Linked DNA regions of Homo sapiens: region 1 is linked to region 2. Evidence: promoter capture Hi-C in human tissues and cell types (Jung and others, 2019). All regions are on one chromosome and are shown on one strand. Each heading gives the region's core, a stretch centred on a gene start or on the middle of the fragment in contact. The rest is flanking DNA. Distances are from core to core; before and after follow the strand shown. Region 1 has its middle 19 kb from the start of PAX9. Region 2 holds the start of FOXA1 (forkhead box A1).

Evidence for each region. The method cuts DNA at HindIII sites, captures the fragments that hold promoters and counts their contacts. A contact is called where the count stands out against the background at its distance.
Region 1: a contact is called between a fragment that was not itself captured here and the fragment with the promoter of FOXA1 in region 2, in 1 of the 25 tissues and cell types used here (dorsolateral prefrontal cortex).

The regions. Positions count from the first base shown.
Region 1 is chr14:36,640,539-36,645,675 of GRCh38, forward strand. No RefSeq gene overlaps it. Among named protein-coding and RNA genes, the nearest start is that of PAX9, 19 kb to the right of the region's middle. The HindIII fragment of the contact is 3,703 bases long and covers 771-4,473 here.
Region 2 is chr14:37,593,625-37,598,772 of GRCh38, forward strand. FOXA1 (forkhead box A1) reads right to left here and starts at 1,625. Exons shown (of 2, transcript NM_004496.5): 1 at 1,277-1,625. The coding sequence starts at 1,348. It overlaps TTC6 (tetratricopeptide repeat domain 6), which reads left to right and starts at 2,005. Exons shown (of 33, transcript NM_001310135.5): 1 at 2,005-2,384. RefSeq lists enhancers at 1,561-2,420, 1,934-3,133. The HindIII fragment of the contact is 7,361 bases long and covers 280-5,148 here.

The DNA.
Region 1 (5,137 bases), core at 1,372-3,871, 950 kb before region 2:
CTGAGTAAAGGAAAGCAAAATAAAACAAAAATGAACAAAATCCCAAGAACACGTACCTTCCACCCCACCTTCTTACACAAACCAACCAACCTTTCCCTTGAGGACAACCATAAGGCTCTGCCACAATAATCTGTACCAATAAAAACTTAAACATGCCAACATCCTTAGAATAAAGTATAGAGGTCTTTGATTTTAGCCTGACAGAATTAATGATATCTTCCTACATTCTCTCACATAAGCACTTAGCATATTAATAGTTTGTATCTTTAATATAATAATTTCATTCTTTATCATCCTAAAGTTTTGCATTCCTCATTGCATTATTTGTAATTAGTTTTTGCATGGCTATTCCTTCCCATGTGTTGTAAGCCCTTGGATATTAAATTTATCTCTTTGCTCTTTTACCCCCTGCACAGAAGAGAAAGAACATATGACTTTAGATCAACGAGTAAATTGGCACAGTCACATTTTTTGAATGGCTCTTTCTTCCCTTTCAAGGGGATAATCTATCATGTTCACCAAGGAATTATGTTACTCAGAACTCCAGATTAGAACCTTTCATTTGCCACTAAATATTCCTAAAATGGATAAGATCTAGTAGAGATTTTGCAATTCCTGGCTTAGAACTGCAGTCAGAAGTGCCTGGCATAAGGCAAGCCCTATATAATTGCTAGCTATTCTTATTATTAACAAGATGTAGGTACTATTTTTAGGATTTGGAAGATAAACTGGAAAGCAGTCTGGCTGTCTTATAGCCTTTCTAACTCTATAATAATGACCCAGACAGAATCAGATACAAAATGTGATTAACCTAGATATTATTTGATCATGTTCAACACTTTCTGGACTAAGTATTACAGAATGTTGTTTCTCAAGGCAGCTGGATCACCAAGAAATCTAAGTAATTGAAACCAATTGAAGTAAAAGATGAACTCTCCTAGGCAAAAATACCTTTTCACAATAAATTCTTAAATAAAAGTAGTGCTGGATAAAAAAATAAGTTGCATTCCTTTGGTTTCCATCCCTCCATGATGCTAGCATCAGATAAGAGAAATAAATCATGTAACTGTACCTGGCTATGAAGTTGCTCTGGATTATGAGTCCACCACACAACACCTATGTAACTTCAAGCAAGTTACTTAACATTCCTACATCAGTTTCTTCATTAATAGAATAAGGATCATAATAGCCTCTCATAGATTATCATGAGGATGAAATAAGGTAAGAGATGTTCTTAGCACAATGCCTTGCACAGAGGATATAATAATAATTATTACTATAAGCCTTCTTATTGAGATATTTACATGCAACATTTAAGCAATTGTTCAGATAACTAATTCTATGCATGGAGGGGTAGGGAAGGAGAGGACAATAACTTATTTCCTCCTCAGCAAAGTAGCAATAATGATGCCTTTCCTTTCTCTTCCTTGAGTCTAATGTTAATCCACAAGTATTTTGAGATGTTCAGTAAAAAGAGAATGCTATTGCTGTAGGCAACAGGCAATGAGGGGACTGATGTGTGGCTTCTTGATTATGGAAAAATTAAGTATTCTAAAGGCCAGAGTTTGGCATCCTTTGGCACCTGAGTGACATTCCTCATCATCTCTCATTTGTCTTCATGAGCTCTAAGAACTAGCAAGCCTCCAATATCTGCAGACCAACGTATATTATTTAAGGAAGATGCTACTTGCTAAAACTCTGGATACAGATCAGTAGACAAAAAACAGCAAAGTGTAATAGATGACTTAAAAAAATTAGGAGTTTGGGGTCTGATAAGAGCTGGAAGTCATTCCACATAAGCTTAATTTTGTACTGCGGTTTGGTCAGGGCATATGGCCATCATATCTGGGGTAAAACAGGCCAGCGCTTCAGGGACTGAGCCCTTCAGAACCCTAGGGCTACTCAGAGGTTCCACAGTTCCACAACTAGGGTTCATTGCTATCTTCTTTATACAACATGCGGGTGGTCCCTTTGAAAAAGTTCAAAACCCACTGAACTAGCAAAGAGCATAGCCAAACCCCAACAACATTTTGGGGTACCTAAATGACCTAGGTACTCTAGGGACCACAACTTAACAGATCTAAATTGCAGCTAAAATTAAATAAGATCTGATCTAGCCCCTCCTCACATTCCTCCCATGCTTAAGAACCTATGTATAGTGTGTCCTCCAGTTCTCATGGAACTGACATGCCACCTAAGGGCCATTAAAGCCCATGTACCTCTTTAGTTAGCATCATTTCTGGAAGAAAAGGTTTAAGGGTAATAAAAGCTTCTTGCTGAACAGGTGAGCAAAGGTTGAAATTAAACATCTAAACAGTGTATCTTTATTTACACCAATGATCCTAATTAATAGCCAAATTAGTTGGGTTCATTTGTCATCCAACTCTACACTTTTGCCCTTGAGTCTCAGTTCTCTCCTTTGAAACCACATGGAATAATTTATTGATTCATTCCTACATCAAAATTTCATTGACTTCCACCAGGTACGGTGGCTCACACCTGTAATCCCAGCACTTTGGGAGGCTGAGTTGGGCGGATCACCTGAGGTCACAAGTTCGAGACCAGCCTGGCCAACATGGTGAAACCCTGTCTCTACTGAAAATACAAAAAATAGCCAGGTGTAGTGGCAGTCACCTATAATCCCAGCTACTCCGGAGGCTGAGGCAGGAGAATCCCTTGAACCCAGGAGGCAGAGGTTGCAGTGAGCCAAGATTGTGCCACTACACTCCAGCATGGGTGTCAGAGTGAGACTCCATCTCAAGAAAAAAAAAAATTCATTGACTTTCATCTGGTGAGGTTGCTCATGTCTGTAATCCCAGCACTTTGGGTGGCTGAGGTGGGAGGATCACTTGAGGCCAGGAGTTTAAGACCAGCCTGGCCAACATGGTGAAACCCCTGGCCAACATGGTGAAACCCCGTCTCTATTAAAAATACAAAAACTAGCCGGATATGGTGGTGCACACTTGTAATCCCAGCTATTCAGTTGGCTGAGGCACGAGAATTGCTTGAACCTGGGAAGTGGAGGTTGCAGTGAGCCGAGATTGTGCCACTGTACTCCAGCCTGGGCAACAGGACTCTCTCAAAAAAAAAAAAAAAAATTAACTTCTATGTGCAAGACACAGGAGTTTCAGAGTGAATCAGACCTGTTGGTTCCTGCATTCATGGAGCTTAGAATCCAGCAGGAAAGGACAGTCAAACTCATAGAGGATGACTTTGCTCCATTAGGCTCTGTATTATAAACCGAGAAAAGCTTTGCTGAGCTCCTCTGACAGAGTAAGTTCAACATCTTTTCTACCTGGGAGCCCTTCAAATATTTGAGGACAGCTATGCCATACTTTCTAAGCCTTCCAGTCTCTATCAAAAATTCTAGTTCCATAAGCCATAGAGTATGACTTTGGTTAGAATCCTTTACCATGTGTGGCTTCCCTTTGCACGTACATACCATCAACCTATCAATGTTTGGGGAGACCAGAAACAAGACTCGCTCCCACCCCGGTAAAGAAAATAACCCTTATGCTGAATACTCCACTTCTATTTGCACAAACTAAGAACATTAACATTCTAGGCTCATGCTGAGTTTACAATCAACTGTAGGCCCTGAGATTACCTAAACTGCCATCCCTGACGGTATCTTCATACACTGGTTCAATTATTTTGTATCTGAGTGTAGAATTCTATATTTACTCATATATTGATTAGTGTTATTTATAGTCAATTATTCTGCCTATTAAGCTGTTTTTGTATGATTGCGTCCTTTTTCTAATTTCTTTTTTCTTTTTCTTTTCTTTTTTTTTTTTTTTTTTTTTTTTTTTTTGAGACACGGTCTTACTCTGTTGCCCAGGCTGGAGTGCAGTGGCACCATCATGGCTCACCACAGCCTCGACCTCCTGGGCCCAATCCTCCTACCTCAGCCTTCCGAGTAGCTGGGACCACAAGTATGCACCATCATGCCTGGCTAATTAAAAAAAAAAAAAAAATCTGTAGAGAAAGAGTCTCTCTATGTTGGCCAGGCTGGTCTCAAACTCCTGGGGTCAAGTAATCCTCCTGCCTTGGCCTCCCAAAGTTCTGGGATTACAGATGTGAGCCACCATACCCAGCCTTCAAATTTCTTATCCTTTCTAATGTCATGTTTTCTACATATGAGAGCATTCCAACAAGCTCTCATCAGCCTAAGACCACCCTTTGGTGCTCTCTTGTATTCCATAGCATTTTGTATCTAACTCCATTACATTATATTATTGCCTTACTGTGATTATATTTTTACGTGTCTCTTCTCTCACTTATCTGTGAGCTCGTTAAGCACAATAGCTTATCTACCTTTGTATCTCCACTATTAAGCTCAGTTCCTGACACATAGGCTATGCTTAAAAGAAAAGCTGTTTATTTCAAAGAATGAATGAATGGGCCACTCAACCATTATGTCACCCAGGCCACATCGGTCCCAAGGTTACCATAAAATAGTTTATCAAATGCCTTATTGAAACACAAGTCTGTAGCTCTCCCAACTCTGCTACCTTCCACTTTAGATAAAAGTCACTTTATTTCTCTGTGTCTCCAATTCCCCATATGCAGACAGTGAAAGTTTATCAAGATTAATAAATGAAATAATATATGTAAACATGCTTTGCAAAACTGCAACATGTGCAAAAGTAAGATATAAGCATCCCCTCATTCTAGCAGCCTTATCAAAAAAGAAAATTATGTTTATTGGCCTGGCAAGAGCTGTGATTTGTGGCTTTCATTTAAGGGCAGGAAGCAAGCCCTCTGAAAAGAGTGACAGGGAAAGGTTAAAGGGATAAAGCCTGGAGCCAAATCCACCACAACCCCCTCCCCAGGCTCTACCGCACTTCCCACTCCTCTCCTCCGGCCCCCCACCCCATATGAAAGTTGATGCCTGTTATCCAGGACCTTTCCTTTTGGCTGGCCTTTGGGGTTTTCCAAATTCTGTGTTGAAGGGTCCAGAGAGGGTCTCCTGCCAATCCTTGTTTGAGTGGGCCTGTTGAACATCTTCAGCAGGACATCAAAGGGTACACAGTGTGAATGGGGAATTGTCTTTAGGAAAGAAGGAAGCAGAGAGATGGACAGACAGGTGGCCCTGCCCTACTGACTGGGTAGCAGCACGTGCAGGGTTTGCTGT
Region 2 (5,148 bases), core at 375-2,874:
TCCTAATTCTCAGCTTTAACATGTAAGAAAGTACTTTCGCTAGGGGTCTTAATTGAATGGTGGGGTCGAGATGACTGCGTCAGAATTAAATCTCTGGAAGACCTCTGAGCTCCTTTTAAAATCATCAACAAGCGAAAATCCTTATCAATAGCGATGTGGGAATGCATTAGGTACAGTATTTTAAACATACAAAACCTAGGCATATTAAAAAGCACTCCTCTGGTAATTTAATAAGGAATAATGATGTCCTTAAGTTTATTTTAATCAGCAAGTATGACTCAATTTGAAAATATGAGAACAAATAGATTTAAATAGGAACACCCAGTAAACTATGGTATGCAAATAAACTCAGAGGTAAACTTGTGAATACATAAATCTAAATAAGTCAGTTACCATCAAAATATTACGTGATCCTATATTTTTCTGTCCACGTCTTAAAAGTATTTTTTACCTTGGGGCTTTATTTTCTTTCCCTCTTCCCAAGATTATCCAAGGCAGTTCCAATACGCGTTTTCAATAATGGTAATTAAACTTTTGGAGGGTAATCGCCAGCTGTTTCCAGAAAAATACTTTTAATAGGTGGTAGTCCTCCCTGTAACTGGTTTTCCCTGTAATCCTTTTGTGCACATTGTAAAAATAACCCCCATGAACGTGCCACCAAGGGGACAATGAAGAGAAACAGGTTCTCGGCCCAGAGTTGTGAAGAAGATTTTGGTCGCACTAGCGCCACCCAGCGGTTTTAGAGAAGGAGCACACTTCTCCCCAAATAGGGCTTTTGAAGAACAAGTTTTACAAAATTTAGAAATCGTTTCATTATTGAGACACCCAACTTGGCGGCAGAGCGCTTTAATCAGAAGACGTCTGCGAATTAAACGGTGGGACGAAGAGGTCGCCTTGTGGGTATGCTCCGGCTTTCTCAGAGTTGCTTCCAACTCGCACCGGCGCTCGCCCGCCCGCTGCACCCCGGGCCCGGCTCCTGCTCCCGCTCGCTGCTGGGAAGAGGCAAGCGCTTCCTAGAGCCGCTGTTTTCAAAGCCCGGAGTTTCCTAAAACTCCCTCTCCGGCTGCGAGAGTCGGGACAGAGCAGGGCAGCAGGTCCCGCTTCCAGGCCCGGCCAAGGCCCGGCCGGGGCCACACCGGCGGGCGGGCAGCGGTGGCACCGAGAAGGCGCCCCCGGCCCGCCTGCCTGCCTTGCCTGGCGCCCACCGCTCCCCGGCCTCCCCCGGCACGGGCTCCAGCGGCGCCCCACCGGCCGCCCGCCTCGCCTTGCCTCTCACCTCCTGCGTGTCTGCGTAGTAGCTGTTCCAGTCGCTGGTTTCATGCCCTTCCATCTTCACAGTTCCTAACATCCTGGAGCCACCCTGCCCAATACAACCATCCAGCCCTGTGCGAAGCGACGGGCGGCCGCGCGGCGCGGGGCGGGGGAGGGGAGCTGAGCAGCTGCAGTCACCCGAGCGCCCGCGCGGGCCCAACGCCACCCGGGCGAAGAGGAAGCCCAGAGCTGCGGGGCGCGGCGTGCGCGGCGGCGGCGGCGGCGCGGCGGGCGGGGGCAGCGCCGGGGGCAGGCGGCTGCCGCGGAGCGCGGCGCCGGGGAGCGCCTCCGCGGGAAGTGAGCGGGCTGCCTCTGCGAGGCAAGTGCAGTTGAGCTGATGTGGATCTTACGTCGCTTGAGTGCCCACCTCCTCGTCCTCTCCCCATTTGTCCGCCGCACAAAGACGCTCGCACCTACAAAGCCCGAGGTGCACCTGCAAGGCGGCCGCCCGCCAGTCCGGCCGCCGCGCCTCCCGCCCCGCCGCTTCACCGCTGCGCGCGACCCCTCCCCCGCGACCCCTCCCCCAAGCGGGGCCCTCACTTTGTTTGCAAAGCAGTGTAATTGGTTTAGGCCCGGAGGCTAGGGAAAGAGGGAAATGGGGAGGGAGGGGGTGTAACCCCCTTTGGAAAAAGAAAAAATAGGCGGGGCCAGGCGGGCGGGCGGGCTAGGGCTCTGGATCGGAACCTCGCAGCCGGAGAAGGCCGGGGGCGGTGGCGTCGGAGACTGGGCTTAGAGACCTTGTGGGATAACTGACCCCGGGGTCCCTCCCCAGAGGTACACGCCACCTTCCGAGCGCGGGCTGCGGCCCAGTCTCGCGCCCCTCCTGCTCTTTGCTTCCTCCCTCCTGATTCCTGACCCAAAGTTCAACCCCGGGAGACTGGAGAATACAGACTTTTTTTTTTCTTTCCTCCTGAGAGCTTCAGACTAGAAAAGGGAAAAAGCCCCACTTTTGCTTCGTCACTAGAAACCGGGTCATCTGAGTCAGCCGAGCCAAGTGACGTTAGGCCGACCCGGGCCCCGGGCTAGCAGAGCGGAGGCGCTGCCACGAAACTCGTACCTGCGGCTAAGAGCAGGTGAGTCACAGCACCGGTTTATATCTTTATGACATAACTTTTTTTTTTTGTTCCGCCTCGGTCCGCTCCTCTCCCCTTGTCATCTGTAGCGACCACAAAGAGGAAGAAACTGAGAGCAGATGTCTGTGTGATAGGGCAGGCGGACCCAAGTCGGGCCGTCCTCCCCCTGCCGGGCTCCTCCTCCCGCCCCCCTTCAGCCGCTTCAGGGAGTGAGCTGGAGACGACCGTCTGGTTTCTGATAGGAAAAGGTCAGGGGGAGGGGACATCTCCCATAACACGCGCGTTAGCTGGGAGAGCAAGGGCCTGGGCGCGGGAACGCATCTGCACTGCGAAAGAGATGCCAGGCAGAAGCCCGAGACTGCCCGCAGCGGCGCTTGGTCCTGTCTGTGACCCGGAGGGTCCGGGCTGAGATCTCAGGGGCTCGCTTGGTTCCTAATCGGTCCTGGACGTCGGTGGGAGAGTCTTCCCAACGCAAAGTCTCTTTACTCTCATGAGGCCCTGGGTGGTGGTTGCCCACTTGTCCTGGGAGAGAGAACAACTGAAGTGACCGGGTGATAGGCAATTAGTTGGTGATAGATTGGGAGATGGTGCGTGTGTTTTGAGTGTGTGACCGTTTGTATATTTCTGAGCATGTGTGACTGTGTGTGTTTCTGAGTGTCTGTGACCATGTGTTTGTTGTACTGCCTGTAGAACCACTAGGTTTCCTTAAGTAACAATAAAATAAAATCTAAAGTAATTAAGAATCCGCAAAATCTTCTTGTTTTGCAAAGTTTTTAAAATGTTATTAATCTCATTTTAAGAAATGTGTTTTAACTTGTCTTCCAAACAGATACCTTTTTCCCTGTGCTTTGTTCTTTTAAATCTCTTTTACTTGAAATCTGGCAAGAGAATCACTTTAAATCCCTGAACCAAACAAATCTCTTAAGTCAGCAGGGGAGCAGAGAGGGTGAAGATGTGCAGTTAAGGAAATAAAAAAAGATAAAAGCATTGGATTACATTTTTTTTTTTTTTTTTTACAAAAAGGGTGGGGGGGTAGAAACGTCACATCATAAGGAAAGGAATGAGTGAAATTAAATCCACCTGGAACTCAGTAGGGCAGGAACCCTCCCTAATGCAGCCTGCTCCTGTGACTGCAAGTTGTCCCATCAGTTTGTGTAAATGTATCTGCGAATTGTGTGTCAGAAACTAATTCTTTTGTGCAAAGTTCCCATTAGTAGCTGACTTTAGTTCCATTTGTAAAGTATACGGATGCTTAGCTTCCTGGGCCTGATCCGGGGGACTTTCAGTGCTAATGAGCTTCCTTGTTCCTTCTGGAGGTGATTCTCCAATACCCTCTTGGCTCTTCAATAACACCGAGCAAGACTAGGTTATTTTCTACCGAGAGTAACAATTTATGGATAGTAATAGCTTTTATAGTGCACAAAAAAGTTGGCGCTTTAAGTAGGGGAAAAACACTGTCACCTTAAAGGGGGGGTCAATTACAATATCAAATGTTCTTTTAGCCCACTTCCCAAACCTACTAAGTCTCATATTTTCAAAAAAAAAAAATTGACTTAAGAAAAAAAAATCCACTTTTCATAGCGTGATGGCCGAAGCGGAATTTCTCCTAGGCTTCTTCAAAGCCCAAGACCGGTGATGCAGAATGGACTCTGCCAGCTTCGGAGACTTGATCCAGGTCAGGGATCCCAGGTTCGCAGCCGGGGGATTTCCACGAAAACAGCGCCTCCTGTCGTGGAGAGGGAAAGCTGAATTTTCCCGCAGGCGCCTCCGGGGAGCACCGCCAGGCGATACTGGATTGAACTCCGCACGCATCCCAGTCAGGGATTTAGGTTCTTAGAGCCGAGGCCAAGATGGAAGGAGAGATGGCCGTTCGTCCAGCTCCCAGCCTCTCTCCATCTCAGTGGCCGCATTGCAAGATACCTAACAAATTTAGGAGGTGAGGTTCTAGTGTACCCAGATGCCAGCCAGTCACTTTCCCTGAGGTTTAAAAGCGAATCAGCAGGGTCGTGTTGGGTCTTTGACTTGGAAATGCATACATACATACATAAAGTAATGCTGCTGTCTGGGAGTTGCTGGCCAGTCGGTAGCCAGGTCCAGCGGCTGCAGCCTGCTCTTTTCCAACCTCTTTTCCCAAATAGGCACCTACACCATTGGAAACTGTGCTTTGCAAGGATTGTGCTGCTCGTTGGAGGAAACCAGGCCTGTCTTCAGCTGTGGGGAGGATGGGTGGACTCGGGGCAGGGTACCCGCGAGGGCAGGCACGTGGCGGCTCCTGCGGTGTCCCGGGTTAAACTTGCCTGTGTTTAAGACGGGTCTGCGACAGCTTGGGGCGGTCCAGGTCGCGGGGAGGGCGGGCTCCTCAAGTGGGGGATCCGCGGCAGTGAGGACTGTAGGGTGCGCGGGTACTCCGGGTAGCCGCCAGCGGAGGAAGCGGCTCCGCCCTTCCCGGAAGCTGCCCTTGCTACACCCGTGGGGCCTGCTCCCGGCGCAGTCCCGCAGTACCTGAGCGGCACTCGGTCCTTTGACCACGCTTGGCTGCCTCAGCTTACACTTCCCAGCAGGATCTGGCTGGGAGCCCCTTCCTCAGATATTCACCAGGCAGGTAGAAGCAGAGGGAGACGACGGCGAAAGGTGGAAGGAGAGGCCGCGGCCTCGGGCCTCGGGCCCCGGGCCCAGACGGCGGCCTCTCGCGGCGACAGGGTCCTTCCTATTTAGCAGGACCGCAGGGTTGGCAGACAGCAGGGCCTGGGCCGGCGGGGCTCTG